Linked DNA regions of Homo sapiens: regions 1, 2 and 4 are each linked to region 3. Evidence: promoter capture Hi-C in 16 types of primary human blood cells and fetal thymus (Javierre and others, 2016). All regions are on one chromosome and are shown on one strand. The core of a region is centred on a gene start or on the middle of the fragment in contact, and the rest is flanking DNA. Distances in the headings are between cores, read along the strand shown.

What was found. Contacts are between HindIII fragments. The CHiCAGO score rates a contact against its expected background, and 5 or more counts as called.
Region 1: a contact is called between a fragment that was not itself captured here and the fragment with the promoter of BMS1 in region 3, in 1 of 17 cell types (monocytes). The highest score is 5.4, in monocytes.
Region 2: a fragment that was not itself captured here is called in contact with the fragment with the promoter of BMS1 in region 3 in 7 of 17 cell types (naive CD8 T cells, endothelial precursors, monocytes and 4 more); the score reaches 7.4 in naive CD8 T cells.
Region 4: a fragment that was not itself captured here is called in contact with the fragment with the promoter of BMS1 in region 3 in 3 of 17 cell types (naive CD8 T cells, total CD8 T cells and total CD4 T cells); the score reaches 6.6 in naive CD8 T cells.

Annotation. Positions count from the first base shown.
Region 1 is chr10:43,168,603-43,173,543 of GRCh38, reverse strand. All of the region lies in intron 6 of CSGALNACT2 (chondroitin sulfate N-acetylgalactosaminyltransferase 2), which reads right to left. Among named protein-coding and RNA genes, the nearest start is that of CSGALNACT2, 33 kb to the right of the region's middle. RefSeq lists an enhancer at 510-679. The HindIII fragment of the contact is 3,243 bases long and covers 1,739-4,941 here.
Region 2 is chr10:43,102,862-43,106,330 of GRCh38, reverse strand. It overlaps RET (ret proto-oncogene), which reads right to left. Exons shown (of 20, transcript NM_020975.6): 4 at 1,138-1,379. Among named protein-coding and RNA genes, the nearest start is that of RET, 28 kb to the right of the region's middle. RefSeq lists enhancers at 220-319, 809-1,560 and a silencer at 580-809. The HindIII fragment of the contact is 7,011 bases long and covers 1-3,469 here.
Region 3 is chr10:42,781,268-42,786,206 of GRCh38, reverse strand. It overlaps BMS1 (BMS1 ribosome biogenesis factor), which reads right to left and starts at 3,412. Exons shown (of 23, transcript NM_014753.4): 1 at 3,377-3,412; 2 at 1,637-1,845; 3 at 535-725. The coding sequence starts at 1,812. RefSeq lists an enhancer at 3,232-3,581. The HindIII fragment of the contact is 6,696 bases long and covers 1,685-4,939 here.
Region 4 is chr10:43,128,271-43,132,840 of GRCh38, reverse strand. RET (ret proto-oncogene) reads right to left here. Exons shown (of 20, transcript NM_020975.6): 20 at 2,490-4,570. Among named protein-coding and RNA genes, the nearest start is that of CSGALNACT2-DT, 7.8 kb to the left of the region's middle. RefSeq lists enhancers at 1,306-1,906, 1,907-2,507. The HindIII fragment of the contact is 4,128 bases long and covers 1-3,362 here.

The DNA.
Region 1 (4,941 bases), core at 2,111-4,610, 390 kb before region 3:
GGAATCATTGGTTTGATTTTTAAAGCAACACATTTTCACAAAGGAAAGTAGAAGGAAACTCAAATTGTCCATAATCCTTATTGTTAATATTTTCTTGCACTGTTTTATCTGGCCTCCTAAGCATGTGGGAGATGCAGTTATCCACACATAACCTATATACCCAAGCCTTGGCCTCTCACAGAATGCCAGATCCCTGTAGCCAACTAGCAATTTGGCACCTCCCCTTGGATGTCTGATAAACAACACATGGCTACTATGGCTCCAGTTGAATCCCAATCTCTGCTCTCCCATTCCTTTCCTTTGCTAATTTCCTACATCTAATCCAACAGCAAGCTCTGTCAGCCCTATCTCTGAATCATATCCAAACCTTTCTCCGTAATTATAATACACTGTCACCCAAGCCACAATCATCTCCCCTTGTCTACTGTGAAAGCCTAACTGGCTGCTGCCAGCCAGAGCCACACACAATCCATTCTCCCTCCAAAGGCTTTCCAACATACTTAGCATAAAATCCCAATGCCTTCCAGAGGCTGAACAAGCTCTACATGCCCTGGCCCAGCTATGTGCCCCTCACCGGCTGTGCTCCAAACACCCTAGGAAACCCAGTAGCTGTTCTTTCTGCCTGAAACCACTATCCCCCAATCACAGCCTAGCTGGTTCTTTCCTGTTCTTTGGACAGCTCTGCTCAGCTTCATCTCAGAAACACCTTTCTGACCAAACAAGCCACAGAAACCACGGAGTCACTCTTTGCAACTCAGTCTGTTTTAATGATCCACGTGGCATGCATTATCTGATTTTACTTTCTGTCACCTCCTAATAAATAAAGATCCTCACGAGCAACAGCCATATCTGTTAGGGTCTAAGTGTCAGGGTGCCAGTGGTGGATAGTGCGTGGCATCAAAGGGACCCTCAATATTTGATGAATTAATATAACAGAGGCAGTGTGCACAGTGGACAGGAGTGGAGGCTGCGGAGCCACATCACCCAGCCTCCTGGGCCTACTCAGGCCAGTGTGTACTTGGACAGGCACTCGACTGCAGCACAGCTGTGAAAAATGGGGCAGTAATACTACATACCTCAGAGGTTGTTAGGAGGATTAAATGAATTAATGTGTAGGCAAAACAGAACAAGTACCCTGCACATAGTAAGGGGTTCATAAAAATATTAGCTATTATCATCATTTAAATGTTACCTAAAATATAGATACGCTATTTCCCGCTTTTTAGCTTTACATTTTCCTCTTCATTTACACGGCTGTATTTACATTTTTCACATTTTCCTTGATATGCAATATTCACCAGAGAATGTACCATAATTCAATTTATCCTTTTATTATTAGAGTTTTGCTTGCTTTTAATGTTATCAATTTATGCATATTACCATCATGTAGCTCGATTACTTCCCCAGGAAAGACTGTTGGGGGTGGAAATTACTGGATCAGAGGGATGAATCTGTTTAGAACTCGACTCAGAGAACTGGCCTGAATCCCCAACAGAAGCGACGGAGGAGCTCCCATCCCCCAGTCTTGCTCACATGGCTTTGCTTTTTAAAAGCAGTGACCTAACAGCAGAAACAAAGCATTATACTGCTGTTCTAAATTATTCCTAGTAAGGCTGACTATTTAAATATGTGAATTATCAACTGTCTTACCCATTTTTTTCCTTCTTATTTACTTCTAATATAGCTTTAAACATCAAGGAAAACAAGTTTTTGTCTTTTAAGTGAGGAGACTGAAGCTTAGAAAAGTTAAGCAACTTGCAAAGGTTACAAGTGGTGAAACTAGAACTTGAAGTGCTTAAACTTAAGTTGCTATGCAACACCTAGAATGAATCAGCATTCAAATCATTCTTCCCCTACAACCCTCCAAACCAGGCAAGAATATTAGCATGCTTTGGCCGGGTGCGGTGGCTCATGCCTATAATCCCAACACTTTGGGAGGCTGAGGCCAGCAGATCACAAGGTCAGGAGTTCGAGACCAGTCTGGCCAACATGGTGAAACCCCATCTCTACTAAAAATACAAAAATTAGCTGGGCGTGGTGGTGTGTGCCTGTAATCCCAGCTACTTGGGAGGCTGAGGCAGGAGAATCGCTTGAAACGGGAAGGTGGAGTTTCCAGTGAGCCAAGATCATGCCACTGCACTCCAGGCTGGGCAACAAGAGCGAAACTCCATCTCAAAAAAAAAAAAAAAGAGTATTAGCATGCTTTTACATTCCCTTCACGCTTCTATGTTGACTTTATTTGCCTCTTTTTGTTTTAATTAATTTTAATATACAACCTTTTATTTTGGAATAATTTTAGATTTACAAAGAAGTTGCAAAACAGTAAAGAGAGTTCCTGTATACCCCTCATCCAGTTTTAGCTTCCCCTAATGTTATCATCTTACATTGTTGTGGTACATTTGTCAAAACTAAGGAACCATCATTGCTATATTACTATTTAACTCAACTCCAGATTTCATTTGGATTTCACCAGCTTTCCCTTTACTGTCTTTTTTTTCTATTCTAGGACCTAGTCCAGGGCACCACATTGCATTTGGTTGTCATGTCTCCTTAGTCTCCTCTTGGCTATGATGGTTTCTCAGTCTTGTTTTTGGTGACCCTGACAGTTTTGAGGAAGAATGGTCAGGTATTTTGTACAATGCTCCTCAATGTGGGCTTGCTGCAGCTTTCCCTGTGACTTTCCTGGGGAAGTTATCTACGTTTTTGGAAGAGGACTGTGAGCTAAAGTGTCCTTCTCATTATGTCATGTCATGGGTACATGGTATCCCTTGGTTAAGGTGTCTGCTGGGTTTCTCCCGTGAAAAGTTTGTTTTTTCTTTCCATACTATGTTCTTTGAAAGTGAGTCCCCTAGTTCCACCTACTGGAAGAGGGAGTATCTACATAAGTTATTTGGAATTCTGTAAGGAAGACTTAACTTTTCTTTCCTATCTAGTCTAGTCACTCAATATTTATCTGCTCATTCACTCACTCATTTGTATCAGTATAGACTCATGGCTATTTACTTGATGCTTTGGGTTATAATCCAGGTTTAAGTTATTTATTTCATTGCTCAGGTTGTTCCAGCTTGGGCACTGGGAGCTCTTTCTGTTGGCTCCTGTGCCCCTTCGACATATTCCCCCTATCTTTTTATTGAGTGCTTTCTTACTTTCTGGCACTGTAAGATGCTCCAGGGTCTTCTTGTATATTTTTTGCCCCTGCCCTGGAATCAACCATTTCTCCGTGGACCTCTGGCTCGTTTGATTGGAGAATAGTATTAGAAACTAAGATTTGGAAGCTGAGTGTACTTGTTACTGTTAGGGTGTCACTGGTTCTAGGCCCTCTCAGCTGACAGCTAGGTAATACACATAAGTATACCATGTACATAACCCGCTGACATCTTAATCCCAAATTGGTATTAATTGCCTTTTTATTATGTCAACATAACTATTTACACTATTACATCAACAAATGTTTAGACTTAATTTTTTTGGTTGTTCACCACTATTTACTCTCAGGTCCTCCTCTCTCAATGTATACATTTATCATTTTGCTGGACTCGATTACAAAGGTCTGTTGAGAAATAAATTCTGAGTCCTTGAAAGCTCAAAAATGTCTATTTTGTCCTAAAATAGTAGGTTGAATATGAATTCTAGAATCAAAGTTACTTTTCTTCAGAATTTTCATAGTATTGCTTTATTGTTTTCTAACACCAGTGTTTTCAAAAAGAAGACGAATGCCAATCTGATTGTCACTCCTTTGTGAACAAACTGGGTTTTGCTATTTTTAGTGTCTCTGGAAGCTATTAGAATTGTCCTTTTACTGTTGTTCTCCAAACACCAGAAGATTTGTTTCTGCTTAGCTCTGGAAACTTTCTTCCATTTCCTCCACTCAATATTCTCTCTTTTCTGAACTCCTATTAATAATTTGGGAGCTTCTGGCTTGATCTTCCTTGTCTTAATTTTTCTCTCATGTTATCTCGTGAACTTTACGTGTCCAGTTGGGTTGTCTTCCAGTTTACAAATTTGATTCAACTGTAACCATTCTGCTATTCAGACCATTTACTGATTTTAAAAATATTTTCACAATTTCCAAGTTCTGATTTTTTAAAGCAACAAATCCTGTTTTATGAATTTAACATTTTCTCTAATCTCCTCAAAGATATATTTTAAAATTACTTTCTATCTGTATTCATATACTCATGTGTTAATTTTTCTGTGTATTAACACTTGGTGCCTCTTTCATAGTATTGTTTTTCCTCAAATGTTTGGTTAGTCTTGGTTAATTGCTACTCACTTTTGTTTCAAGTATTGTTCAGAAGTCCATGGCTGTTAGCTTTGATTACAATGGCCTATCTCCAGTCACAGTCAAGGAGATTAGAACAGGGTCTCAGGGGGAATGCGCTAACAGTAGTTCACTTTTGTAGTCTAGGGGCTCCCTAGCCACCCCGACCAGCCTCTCCAGCTCCAGGGACCACATGCACTGCCTTAGACTGAGGGTCAATCCCTGTGATGCCTGCTTCTCAGCACACCTAGAGAAGCATGTTTATTCCAGGCTCCCTCCATTCTGTCTGCTATGAGCTCAGAGGATGCAAAGCAGCCCCATCTTCACTCACTGTTCTCTTGAACACATTCTAGTCTGTTCTCTCCTCCAGAAATCTTACGCTAACTGCTATCGTCTTACAGAAAGTTCTCAAGACTTACGGCTGCTAACACCTTCTCTCATTTTCCAGTACTAATGTACCCTTTTCTTCAGAATAATTCACCGTCAGATATGGCAGACGTGGGTGCTCAGTTTGCCATTTTGAACCTATTTGTATTTATATTCATAATACTGGCCTATAGATAAGGTAGAGGCGTGTGTGTGTGTGTGTGTGTGTGTGTGTGTGTGTGTCTGTGTGTACTATGCCAAGTGTTGATATGAAGATAATGGTGGCCTCATAAAATATGTTAAGTACATCATAT
Region 2 (3,469 bases), core at 673-3,172, 320 kb before region 3:
CTCAGACCCCCCAAAACCAGAGACCTTAGAATGCTGCACGTCCCACACAGCCCATAGGTGGACCAGATGTGTGTTGTCAGAGCCAGGTCTGGGGACAGTCTGACCTGGGTTCAAGTTCCCACGGGGTCACTGGCCAGCCTGGCCGTCACCTTCCCTGAGCCACTGAGCCTCGCCTGTGTAACAGGTACAATGCAGACCTCTTATAAGGAGAATTACAGCCGATGCCCAGGCACCCTGCTGGCAGGTCCCATCCAGGTCCCCAGAGAGCAGGATGAGCACCTCCACTCTCCCCTGAGGAAGCTGGGCCCCACAGGGTGAAGGTCAGGTCAAGGTCACACAGGAACAGCCGGCAGAGCCGAGCTCCGAGGCCAGGTGTACATCAGAGCGCTCTGTTCCAAGCATCCTCCTACCCCAGGCTGGAGGGGGTTGTGAGGAAAGCCGCTGGGCACCTGGATGGCTCTGCCCACCAGGCCTCTGCTGTCACCCCAGGGAGGCCCACATAGCCTTTACTCACAAATTGTGCTTTCGACCAGACCCCCTTTCCCTGCCAAACCTGCACGTGGTGTGCCCAGAGAAGCGGAACAAGGCAACGTACTACCTACCTCAGTCCCCACGCCCACTCTCCCACGGCCCCTGCTGGGTGGGCCGGCTGCAGGAAGGCCGAGGCCCAGCAGGTGGCGGTCGCGCTCCACCAGCGCGAGCCGGAGAAGGGCGGGGCGGGCGGCGCCGGAGGTGATCCGCCTTCCCGTCCTTCTCCAATCCCCGGCTCTGCTCGTGGTCACTCAAGGGCCCTCCCGTTGGGGGCTAACTGCTGGTGGGAGGGAGTGCCCTCCCGGCAGATGCTCCCCGCCCGGGCAGCGCGCCGCGCCCGCCTGCAGCGGCACAAGTATGCCCCAGACGCGAGCCCTCGGGCCTCGTCCTGGTCCTTGCCTCCCGAGGCAAGGCCCAGCTGGGTGCTGGCAGGACTCCCCCTTCCCCTCCCCCTAGGACAGACGGCGCAGACGGAGGCGAAGGACAAATGAAAGCGCGAATGGTCGGCCACACGGTTGGGTGGCTACACGGACACTAAACCGACCGAGAAACGAACTGTGGCCGGAGACAGACACTGGGTAGACCACAGCACGCGCGGACAAGCACCTCCTTCCGCTTGAACTCCACCACGGCGCTGGCGGTGTCGACGCCCGCGGGGAAGGTGGGCGCCGAGTCGTCCTCGTCGTACACGGTCACCGGGAAGGGCACCATCACCACCTCCTCGCGCGCGCCGGCGTGCACGGTGCACACGGCCACCAGCTCGTACTTCTCCCGCTGCTCGCGGTCCAGGGCCCAGCGCGTGCTCACCTCCAGGCTGTCCGGGGCGCAGCGGAAGGGCAGACCCTCACCTGCGCACCAAGCAGACAGGGGCCCCGCGTGATCACCAGCCGGGACCGGGCCAGCCGCTTTCCTCGGGAAGGGGGCTCTGCGGTCAGAGCGGGGCGCACACCGCCGCGGCCCCAGGCCTCCCCTCCTCCGCTCCACAGGGGAGGGCAGCGCTCGGAGCACGAGTTTGCAGTTTGCAGCGATGACTGTGCTTACGAGTTTGCAGTTTGCAGCGATGACTGTGCTTACGTCCTGCTGCAGCTGCGTCCTCACTCGTGCTGGTTGGGAAGAGCCAGGACCAGGCACCCTGATCAACCAGTAGGGACTGGGACACCCCTCCGCCCACCTGGCCTTGATCAGGAGTGGCCTTGTGTGGGGAAGGGTGGCTTTGCCTCAGCCCAAGCTGCACTGCAGCCCTAGAGAGCCAGCTACTGGCCTTGGCTGCTTTTTTTTTGTTTTTGATGGAGTCTCGCTGTGTTGCCCAGGCTGGAGTGCAGTGGCGCGATCTTGGCTCACTGCAACCTCCAACTCCCGGGTTCAGGCGATTCTCCTGCCTCAGCCTCCCGAGTAGCTGGGACTACAGGCGCCCGCCACCATGCCCGGCTAATTTTTGTATTTTTAGTAGGGACGGCCTTTCACCATATTGGTGACCTTGGCTGCTTTTTAAAAACTGTTAGGTTTTTTTTTTTTTCAATTATGGAAGCAATATGTGTTCATTTTAGAGAACGTGAGAAAGCCACGATTCTACCACTTGAAAACAAACACAGTGGACATCTGGGGTATGATGTGACATTAACGCATAATGATTTCCGACCGCCTAGTGTGCATCCCCACTCTACACCTCCTTGTCCAGTGCGTCGCCAGGCTGGTCATCCTCTGAAGGCCGGATGTCGAGACAAAAGCGAATGCTCCGTGCCCTGCATGGCAGCTCGCGCTAGACTACATCGCCCCTGAAGCAGGGCCAGGAACCACAACACAGTCTTCAACGAGCCTGACCTCGGATTTGTCCTCCAGAAATAATCCAGAAAAGGGGGCATGCTGAAGGCGGAAGGTCACCGCTGAAGACCCCACAACCCACCCCAAGGAGGCGGGGGCAACTCCACAAGCCTCCCAGGCAGAACCATGCCTTGCGCATGAATTACGTATGTGGGAAATGCTTATCATATAATGCTTTCCTCTGTTGAGTGTGATTACAAAAAACCCCCCACTAAACTAAATTTAATCACATAATTTTTAGTGAAAAAGGGCAGCATGCAAAAAACCAAGTGCTCCATCAACCCTGCCCCAGAGAATGAAAGGAATCTGGGGAAGCATAAGTGATGGCTTGTCTTCCTTTACTGAGATTTTAATATTCTTGCCATGTTTGTGTGATAAAGTTAGTGTGAATTTAGGACACACTTGCCAGCGGTGCAGCCTCTGTGACCTGGTTGAGCCCCACTTCCTGACTTTCTGATGGTCAAATGGGGCCTCCCTGCACCTAGTCAGCTGCCTTCTCCCCTCTCCACTGGGATCCAGCTCATCCCACCCTCTGACTGGCTGCAGCTGCCTGCTTCTCGCCATGCCTCGGCTTCCACCCGTATCCCGGCATCACACCCCACATCCTCCTGTTCAGAGGTTTCTCCTGTAGCCTTCTGATTGTCTCCCAGCTTCGCCCCTGAACCTTCCCACCCCAAACCATTCCTAACACAGTAGTCTGACTAATCCTTTTAAAACTAAGTCAGGTCCTGCCAGCACTCCCTCCCTCCAAAGTCTTCCATAGCTCCCCATGTTCCTCCGGAGAAAGCCCTGCAAGCCACTCCCAGACCTGCCCCCTGCCCCAGGAACTATTCTGCCCCATCAGCCTCAGCTCTTCCCTGTCGCTCAGTGCACTCCAGGCACACGAGGGTCACACTGTGGTGCCCTCCAAGGGGCTAGGCCTGCCTACCCGGCACCCTCCCACCTTTGCTCTGCTAGCCCCCACCCTGACCACCCAATTTACGATAGAGGAATGGAGGTCTCCTCGTCTGTTCCCCTCCTCTTCAGCGTTTCCCTCTTCCCAGTTTCCTCCCCAGCTAGCTCCTTCCAGAAGCCACCTGATTTCCTTGGCATGCTCAGACGCTCTGTCTGCCCCACA
Region 3 (4,939 bases), core at 2,163-4,662:
ATGCACCTGGCACATAGGAGGTGCGTGCTATCTGTTAAATGATGTGTTCACGGTGACTAGGCCTGCTAGGCCCTTCCAAGGAACATGTTTGGCAAAGCCAAAGAGCAGTCAGGATAAGACATAGTGAACATTATCATTTCTCATACAAAAAATGGAGGAGGAAACCAGGAAGAAAAGGAAAGCATCACCTTAAGAGGCTGGACCACACATCCTTCTACACGGAGGAAGAGGACTGTGGCTGGTGTCGCAATCGAGCAGCAAAGCTTGATTTTCCAGCCCGAGTGCTGGGTTCGAGTATCTTCCTGCCTTGGAACCTCCCAGAGTGCTGGGAGGAAATGTGAACATTATCACATCCTTATCTCTGGGAACTTACCCTTTTCTGAAGCTATAGCCAACTTAGTAATACTAAGTATAAGAGAAGTCCCATGATATGACAATATTTAACATGTTCCACTCAAGAAAACAACAAACGCATGCATGTCCCTCAGATGACAACAGCCACGCCAACTCTGTGTCTGTGGTGGCATCTCCTACCTGACACAATCGTCACAGGGCCTCTGATCTCAGTCAACTTCTGCCGGGTAAAGTTCCGAATGAGGCATTGTATCAAAGTGCTCTTTCCAACTTTTGGAGGTCCCATCACCACTACCACTATTGGTGGGGGCTCTAGTGGAGTTCGATCAACCACTGGAATATGATGCTTTTTTGTCTTCAAATCCTGAGTCCTATTCATTAAAAAATAAACAAATAAATAAATAGTAAACTCATTTTCAAAATAGAGTAAAAGGTATCAACCTTATAAGTAGACTTTTTTGGTACACTTATAGCTATGAGTACTTTAGCACATTTTATAGAGAGTACAACAGACAATATATAAATATAATTAACTTGTCAATTATTAACTTGCTAACTTCTGGCCCCATCCAAATAATTGCTGTTCAATAAAGATGTAACAAGATGACTTCAATACTATAGAGAGCGAAAATTAAACACTCCTTAAATCTGACTGTTTTAAGAGTGATTTTAATAGTTTTTTAAAAAACCAAAAGGTAAATAGCGAGGCAGTACATCATAGCAGATAAGAGCAGAGGCGCTGGAGTTACATTTAGCTCTCCTACTTACTGGTTATATGATTGGAGGTAACTTGTTTTCTTGATCTCAGTTTTCTTACCCATAAAATGAGGGCAAGAATGATTCCTACTCTGGTAAGGCTGCTGGAAGGATTTAGTTGAATAATGTTTAAAGTACACTGCTAGGCATATCACAAGGGCTCACTAAATAAAGCTATGTTAGTATTAAATATTGTAATTTTTGTATTTTATATTACAACTATGTAAAACATACCTGGGGGGAAAAAGCACACTTATCACCATAGAAACAGTTTAAAATTTAGGAACAAACAAAGTCTATAAATTCTTGTATCCTGGGCAATAAACACTAACCAGTATGCAGATGCTGGAGGCAAGGCAGCTTCTATGGGAAAAGCTTCTCACGTTTTAGTGAAAGCCACACACCATGAATCTCCATGTCCTTTGGAGCTGGACTAGACTCGTGAATCCAAATGTCACCTGTGAGAGGCTCCTACTATTTAAAAAAAGAATCAATGGAAGAATGACCAGACCGTAGCCTAACATACCTGTGAAAGGATCGAGCCATCCGCACAGCAGACTGAACTGCAAAAGCTTTGGGATTTCTCTTCCGGGCATCTTCTTCGTCTCCTAGCTGGAGATCCTGCAGAAGCCGCTTCTTTTTCTTTGCAGCTTTGGGTCCACTGTTTTTCTTTCTGTGTTTCTTCTGGTCCTTAGCCTCCATAGTGGCTATTTACCAATAACAAGTAACTCTAACCTACAAGGAAGAAGGTTGGGGTAAGGAGATGGGAGAAGCATTTTACAATCCAGGCAATACCCAGGGAAAAACAGTAAATTTCATTTATTTCTTTATGAAGAGATGATGTATTTGTTCACTGAACAAGGGTAGAAACTGCTTAACCATCCCCAATTTCATTTCTCTCTGTTATGCTATAAATTAGATGAGTTACCTCTCTTAAGATTACATTTTATGGTTAAGTTACTTTTTATTCATCTTAAGTGTCAACATCAGCAGTATCTATTTCTGCAAGGATAGAAATATACTATATCTGTACTTTTCAGCCATTTAGCCATTAGCCACATGTGGTTACTTACAATATACTTAGGGAAACTGAAAAAATGAGTTTTTAATTAATTTCATTCTAACTCCAAATAGTCACATGTGGCTACCATACTGGACAGCTCAGACCCAGGTATCAACTGGACTGATGAAGTGGTTTCCTAACTTAAACTAAAACTTAAATTTTAATAAAAAAATGTGAAACGTTTTTATGAACCTCCAATATGATCGCAGTATTACTTTTAGTACCTGTTGACTCTGTAAAACTCCTAAATTACAACTTATCTACATACATTTGAAAAATAGAAATAGCTGTACGTGTGAGATAGGACTGGTTCTAGATGACACCTGGAGACCCCATGAACTTACAGAGACCCTTCCAGTGATTTCTGAGTTACCTGGGAATCTGTGGCTAATAAATTGGCAATCACTGAATTAGTGAGTTATTTTAGGAAATCGGGCTGCATAAAATCTGACAGCTTGATTAAAAAAAAAAAGCGGAGCAGGATGCCATTTCATTCAATTAAGGTACTGTATTCATTCCGTTGAATAAATATTTGTGTCTGTCTACGATGTGCTAGGCACTGTGCCAGTAAGTGGATACAGCTATTATCTGACTTGCAGAGGAAATCCAAACTATTATCTTCCGCGCCACGCAATAAGGGCGACATTGGAAGGCTGCACAGGGTGCTACTGGAGCACGGAGGTGAGTCAGAGGCTTCCCACAGACACACACCAGCGGAAACAAAGTCTTTATGTATTACCATAATGTCAAGAACACTGGCCAGGAGTTAGGAGAGCTGGGCGCTAGGAACGCTTTGAAACCGAATAGCTGTGTGATTTCAGAGATTATGTTTCTTCTCTGCTATATTTTAGTTCAGCACTTGTACTAATGTTTCTCTCCCTGTCTTTCTTCTTGGTGGGAAAAGCACAATTTGGGGTCAACAGATCCAGCTCAGGTCTAAGTCTCCTACCGGGACCACGTCGCCAGGAAACGACGTCGCCCAGCCACCTTCCCTCCCCGTCTGGGCTCTCTGCAGGGATTCATCACGTCACTCACCCAACTACCCCAGGACACCTCCGCCAGATGAGAAATATGCCGCTCCTCGGGAGCAAAGATGACCCGGAGGACCGGGGGAGGACCTTCCCACACGCACGACTCGCGATCTTCCCAGTGCCCCAGAACCAGGGACCCCACCGCCGCCTACCCCAACCCGCAGCACCGAACCTGCTCGCAGCCGCGACTCCTCAGGTCAGCATGGACACCGCCGGAAACGGAAATTCACAGTCGCGCTGACTCGCCGGAGGGAAACAAGAAGGCAGAAAAAAGAGACCGGCATGGGGACGGCTTTCAGGGGAGAGCCTGAAGAAAGAGGGCTGAACAGCTGAGTGCGGACGCAGGCGCCGTCCGCGCAGTGCGTTCCACCGGGTCCAGGTCCTTCCAGATTCCTCTCCACCCCGCCCTCGGAATCCGCGGCCTCAACTTCCGCGGTGGGACTCCGGAGCAGCGTGCGCCGCGCTCGCCTGAGTTCTCGCCGAAGGCCAGGGCGGCTCTGCGGCCTGGCGCCGGTTAGTTAGTGTGGTGCAAAAGCCGGAAGGAGACACATTTGGTCCTGGCCTCCCGGCAGTCACCGTGCCAAGGACGAATGGACTATCGCTTGATTTGGAGTACACTTCCTCCTCTTTAAAGATTACAGATGAGGGGGATCTCGCGTTCTGGGGTGCCCTAAAGCCCTCTTTTGGCAGGGCGCAGTGGCTCACGCCTGTAATCCCTACACTTTGGGAAGCCGAGGAGGGAGGATTGCTTGAGCCCAGGAATTCAAGACAAGCCTGGGCAACATAGGGAGCCTACCTCTCTCTCTTAAAAAAAAAAAAAAAAAAAATTAGCCGGCATCGTGCCGGGCGCCTGTGGTGCTTGTGGTCCCAGCTACTCTGGAGGCTGAGGTGGGAGGATCGCTTGATCCCAGGAGGCGGAGTCTGCAGTGAACTGAGATGAGCCACTGGACTTCAGCCTGGGCAACAGAGCAAGACACTGTCTCTAAGAAAAATAAATAACATAAGGCCCTCTTTTGCCAGGACCAACAAACCGTGAGGGCAGGGACAAACTGACCCAGCCTAAACTGCCTCGCCCTCCCTAAACCCGGGAAAGGGGCTTTACCTGAGTGAACGTAGCATCTTGCCGTTTTCTTACTGCACAGCTTTACCTTCCCAGGGATCCGCCCATTGCCACCTGAGGAAATGCCTTGGAGTCCATCTAATCCCCAGCCCAGCTACTTGGGAGCCTACAGAGCGTACATTGTCAGAGGATGCATCTTCCTTTAGTCTTGGAGGGTTTCTTTTCAATATGATCCCGCTGGTGCATTCAAGGCTCAATTCTACACCAAAAACTAGGCCCACTCCTGTCACGAGAACCCCAGGCGTCAGGTCTTCTCACAGGCACCTTGTTCTTGCCCTCAGCAGCCCCCAGGTATTCACTCTGCATATTCTAGATACTGGGTGCTGGACTTGGGAGGCTACCCACGTGGCACATGCTTCCCTTATCCCTGAAGAGCTTAGAGTGTTGTAACTTCTTCACACTACACCTCTTACTTCTTGAAGATTTCAGTATCCAGGTAGATAATCCTTCCAACATCCTTTTGGTCTCATGAAGCCCACTCCTGTCCTCTGCCCTACCTCAGCTTCCCCCTCCCTCCATGATCAGACCTTAGACCTTGTCAGGTCCAAGGACTGCAACCCCCACAGTATCCCACTCTGACCAGGTCTATCTATCCTCCTATCTGTCCAGGTCACT
Region 4 (4,570 bases), core at 49-2,548, 350 kb before region 3:
CAATCGAGCAGCCAAGAAACAGGTTGCTCTTCTGTTAATACATTGAGAAAAATACACAAAAACTTGAATGTTTTAAATGAATTTCATATTTTTATTCAAGAAATTGACAGTCTGCATGGTAAATATTGTCTGTGTATGAAATATCAAACTTGTTTCCTTCTCAGAAAATGAAAAATGATTTTTTTTAGCTTTAGAATTCACTTACCTTGCTTACCAGCACATTTTTAGCTTGAACTGCTCAGTGTCATCTGAGAGGATGCAGGTCTATGATCTCTCCCAGTGTGGTAGTCACAGTGGCTGGGGTAGTTTCAGACCGCAAGCTCCCTCCATGATGACCTTCACATTTCTGCAGCCCCCACAGTGAGATGTGCCCCCATAAAGGATCCCCTGCCCGGGGTCCAGCTGAGAGATCTTGCTTGGCCAGGTCCTGTGATTTAACACCTCAGAGACATCTGCAAAAATACCTGGTCACTTGACACAGCACTCAAATTTGTAGTTGCAAAGATAAACTGTGATTTCTCCAGGGTGTTCAGAGTGTTTGCCTCCTTAACTCCTGGGAGCAGCCTGCCCTTGCAGCCCTCAGACGGCCACTACCTGGCCTCAGCAGCAGGACACAGTAGTGGCCCCACGCTGAAAAGTTCTCTACATGCAGGTTCTTATGACCTCAGCTAAGATGATCCTTCCTGAGTCCCAGCTCCCTGAAGAGGTGGGAGACTCTACACAGTTTCGGTCAAGGCTGCTGCCATGGAGAAGGGACAGGGCCACAGCAGGAGCCCTGGCAGAGAGGGTGCTTTCCCTGCAGGCGCACAAGCCTAGGACTTGCACCTGGAGCATCTTCATGTGGAAGACGTGTGGGGCCACGCACACTGCTGCATGCACCCTGAAGACCCACCTTTCTGCTTTTTCAGGGCCACAGAGGTTAGGATTCCCTAGGACTTCCTAGAACCACCCCCCAGTTGTGAGGACCACTAAACACAGGCGAACCTCAGAGATACTGTTCCAGACCACTCCGGTAAAGCAAAGAAGATTGAAGATCCCAAATAAGTGAGCCACACAAGTCTCTTGGTTTCCCAGTGCATATAAAAGTTACACTTTACACTGTACTGGAGTCTGTTAAGTGTGTGACAGAACTATGTCTAAAAAACAATGTACATACCTTGGTTTAAAGATTCTTTACTGCTTAACAGTACTGATAGAGAGACATGAAGTGAGTGTGGGCTGTTGGAAGAATGGCCCTGATAGACTTTCTCGACGACTCAGCGTTGCCACAAAACTTCAATTTGTGAAAAACGCAATAAAGCAAAGAGCAATAAAACAAGGTGTGCCAGACACTATGCGTGAACGCACCCGAGGCAGAGAGAGGCACCGCTAACTGCTCCACCTGCCTGCGGGAGAGGCTTTCTTTATATGTTAGAAATTATGCTTTCCCTTCAAAATTTCTTTTGTGTATGAAGTATTTGTTCAAGCCCTGTTCTCAGGCACATTCAACTAGATTTCTGCCCACATAAGCTGGCCTCGTGGTGGGAAGAAATCCTTCGTGAAGGTTGGCAGAAAATGTGTTTTTAGGGGAAAATAAAACAGCAAACATACACACACAAATAGTCCTAATGTAGAGTCTACATTAGGGGTGGCTTTTAGCATTAACTTTTCTTGGCGTAGATTTCTACTTTCAGAGGTAAAGGCTACAGCAAACAGCTGGCTCTGGAGATTACGTTCACTTCCAGCCCGTGGTCCAGGCTGAAGGAGGAAGCCGTGAGCAGACACAGACACCCACGGCTGGGAAGCGGGGCCTCATGGGCCTGGGGCGGGCACTGGGCGAGGCGTGCCAAGGCCTGCATGTACACCACCTGGCGAGGCGTGCAAAGGCCCACGTATACACACGTGTATGTGTGTGACACAGGCCGTTGGCATCTGACACAATGCAATCGCAGATGAGACTGATGTTGACAACAACTCCCGTTTGCCCACTGACCCATCAGCTCCACGCCCGGCATGAGAAGCTCAGAGAATTCCTCGGGGAAGACATAAACAGAAGTAGTGAGTATGTCAGGCTTCATGGTGGTTCAGGACAGCATTTTCCCTCACACTTCTAATGGCCTTCCTCAGGACTTGGCATTTTGTATTCTGTCTCCCACAGCTCTAAGGCCAACTTCAAAAGATCAGCAACAAGCAAATTGCTAGAGAACTGTGAAGACCTAAACTTGACACTGGCTGCTGCTTTGTTCTAGGGATGGACACTTTTAAGGAAGGGATTCCTTGAACAGTGGAGTTAGCTGAGTTTTTCAGTTTCTATCAATGTGCCTATTCACACGCAAATGTACCAGATAAGCCAGCGATATCTCCAGAGCCCCTAGTCCTCGACCACTATTGATGCCTCAGTGGTTATCATGATAGAATTCTTTGTGATGTTTTAAATATTGTATGGAAACTACAAAATCAGAAATCTGTTGTTTCCAACTAGAATGTTAAAAAGAAAAAAAGTTTACACATTTTATGATACATGATTTTATTTACACAACTGATTTTCTTAGTCACCTTGATTACAAAAAAAGGAACATGATCTGGTTTAATGACCTTTCATAAATAGATTTTACAAATTTTAATAACTGACAGATTACTACTTAATACTCAGTAATACTTAATACTTAGTAACTTCTGCATTTACGTGTATGAAAATTCCAGTAGAGCTAATAAGGATGGGGACTTTTATAACTCAGGAATAGACAATTAGGTTATTGGTCAAGGATAAATTGGTCAAGGATAAATTCCCCATCACTGGGTCAGCTGTTTAGACCTGGAGTTCTTACCCTCCTGAGAACAAACCTGTTGCAGCAATTCACACTTACTGTGTAGGCATTTTTAATAATTTGAGAAAGTTTATTCTTATTTCTGCATTTAGTAAGACTATCATTAAGCATATCTGAAAACCAAAAGTTTACCATGTCTATAGATATTTGTAAAAGAACTTATCACAGTGTATCTGAAAAACAGCCCAAATTAGAGCCAGGTTACGTGTCCAATAAGCATTTTTCAAACTCTCCCTCTGGGTGTGTGCGCACACACCACAAGGCTCTATTACACACGCATCCAAGCCTTGGCCTCACAAAATGCCACAATTTTGCTGTTTTTGTGAAATGCCTATATAAAATACAGTATTTGAATGAGACTATTTTAAGTCCTATCAGTGCTTTAAGTCTGAAGAGCAGGCAGTGTTTTGGTAATCCGACTCTTTTCTGCGAAGTTACAGTGCTGACAACACAGCCAGAAGAGCTGCTGAGACTTCCCAAAAGCTGCCCCCACAAGACTGGAGGAGTGTTGTGCATCTGTGACCACAAACAAGCAATGAAGAATGACAAGAAGCTTATGAGTCATGGTCAGAATCTAAGAAACAGAAACATCTTGTAGCAGCATTAAATTACAAACACAGGAAGAGCTGATCCATGGGCCTTTCACACAGGCTCTATAAGAGCCAAACACCATCTTTTTCACATCAGAATTGTAATCAGAGGTGTAGCAGTCCTTGGTCATTGTCATTGCTACTTCTAACACAGCTAGCTAGCCTGTCCCTTTATGAGTAAGTTGATAAGATTCAAATTAAAGTGAGTACAAGCCCTACCTGCTCCTAACAGGTAGGATGAGCCACTGCTTTCGCCTCTACTTGGCTGTGGGGTGTGCTGCAGGCTGGTGGCAGGTGGGATTCACAGCAGCAAAGCCTCTGCTGTCAGCAATTCTGGGACTCCAACAGCCCCCTTTCTTCATACTGTTCTCATCAGGGGTAGTGGCTGCTCAGTACCGAACACGTGAGGATGATGTGGTGGGCCCGGGGGACAAATGTGTCTTGTGAGCCCTCTTCCCTGATACCACCATCCACATAGTAAAGATGGCATGGAATCTCTCCATTGTGCTAAATCTAGGAATCATCTTAATCATGATGAAAACCAAATGTCTTCCTAAGGAAAGGTTGCATGATTTAAAAAAAATCATTCTCAAGATCTCGAATGCTGAGCCCAGGCCCATCCTCGGGGCCCCTCTTCCCCTCCAGCCCTGGAGGGGCATTGACACTACCCCCAGGCCCCCCCCGCAGTCTCTCATTCTGAATAAGGACAGGTCATCAGGGCCAGCATTTTTCCTACTGCCTTTTTTGTGTGTGTGCTTCATGTTTAAATTTTTTTGCCTTGTTTGGCGGCAACTAGAAAAATCCAACAGTTCAGGTCCAATTTCATACACCAGGTAGTAAGTGTTGGACCCACACATGTGAACACAGAATGTTGGTGGTCACTGATGGACACAGACCAACACTGGGTGCTGCTGGGCACTGAAGAGAAAGGAATGCTTAACCACTAAGACTCAGAGCTCTTACCCGGTGTGGCATGTCTGCTAGGAGGGAAAATCACCGGCTATCAGAAGTAAAACCACCTTGGAAGTTAAAACAAACTACCAAAAACGAGTCTGCCACCTGGGAACTGAACACGGCTCGGCCAATGTGACGTTCACAAAGAAAGGGCCGGTAGACTTTCCATTCTCAGCATGTTTCTTCCCCTTGTGAGTCCATTACCTTTCACAAAGAAAT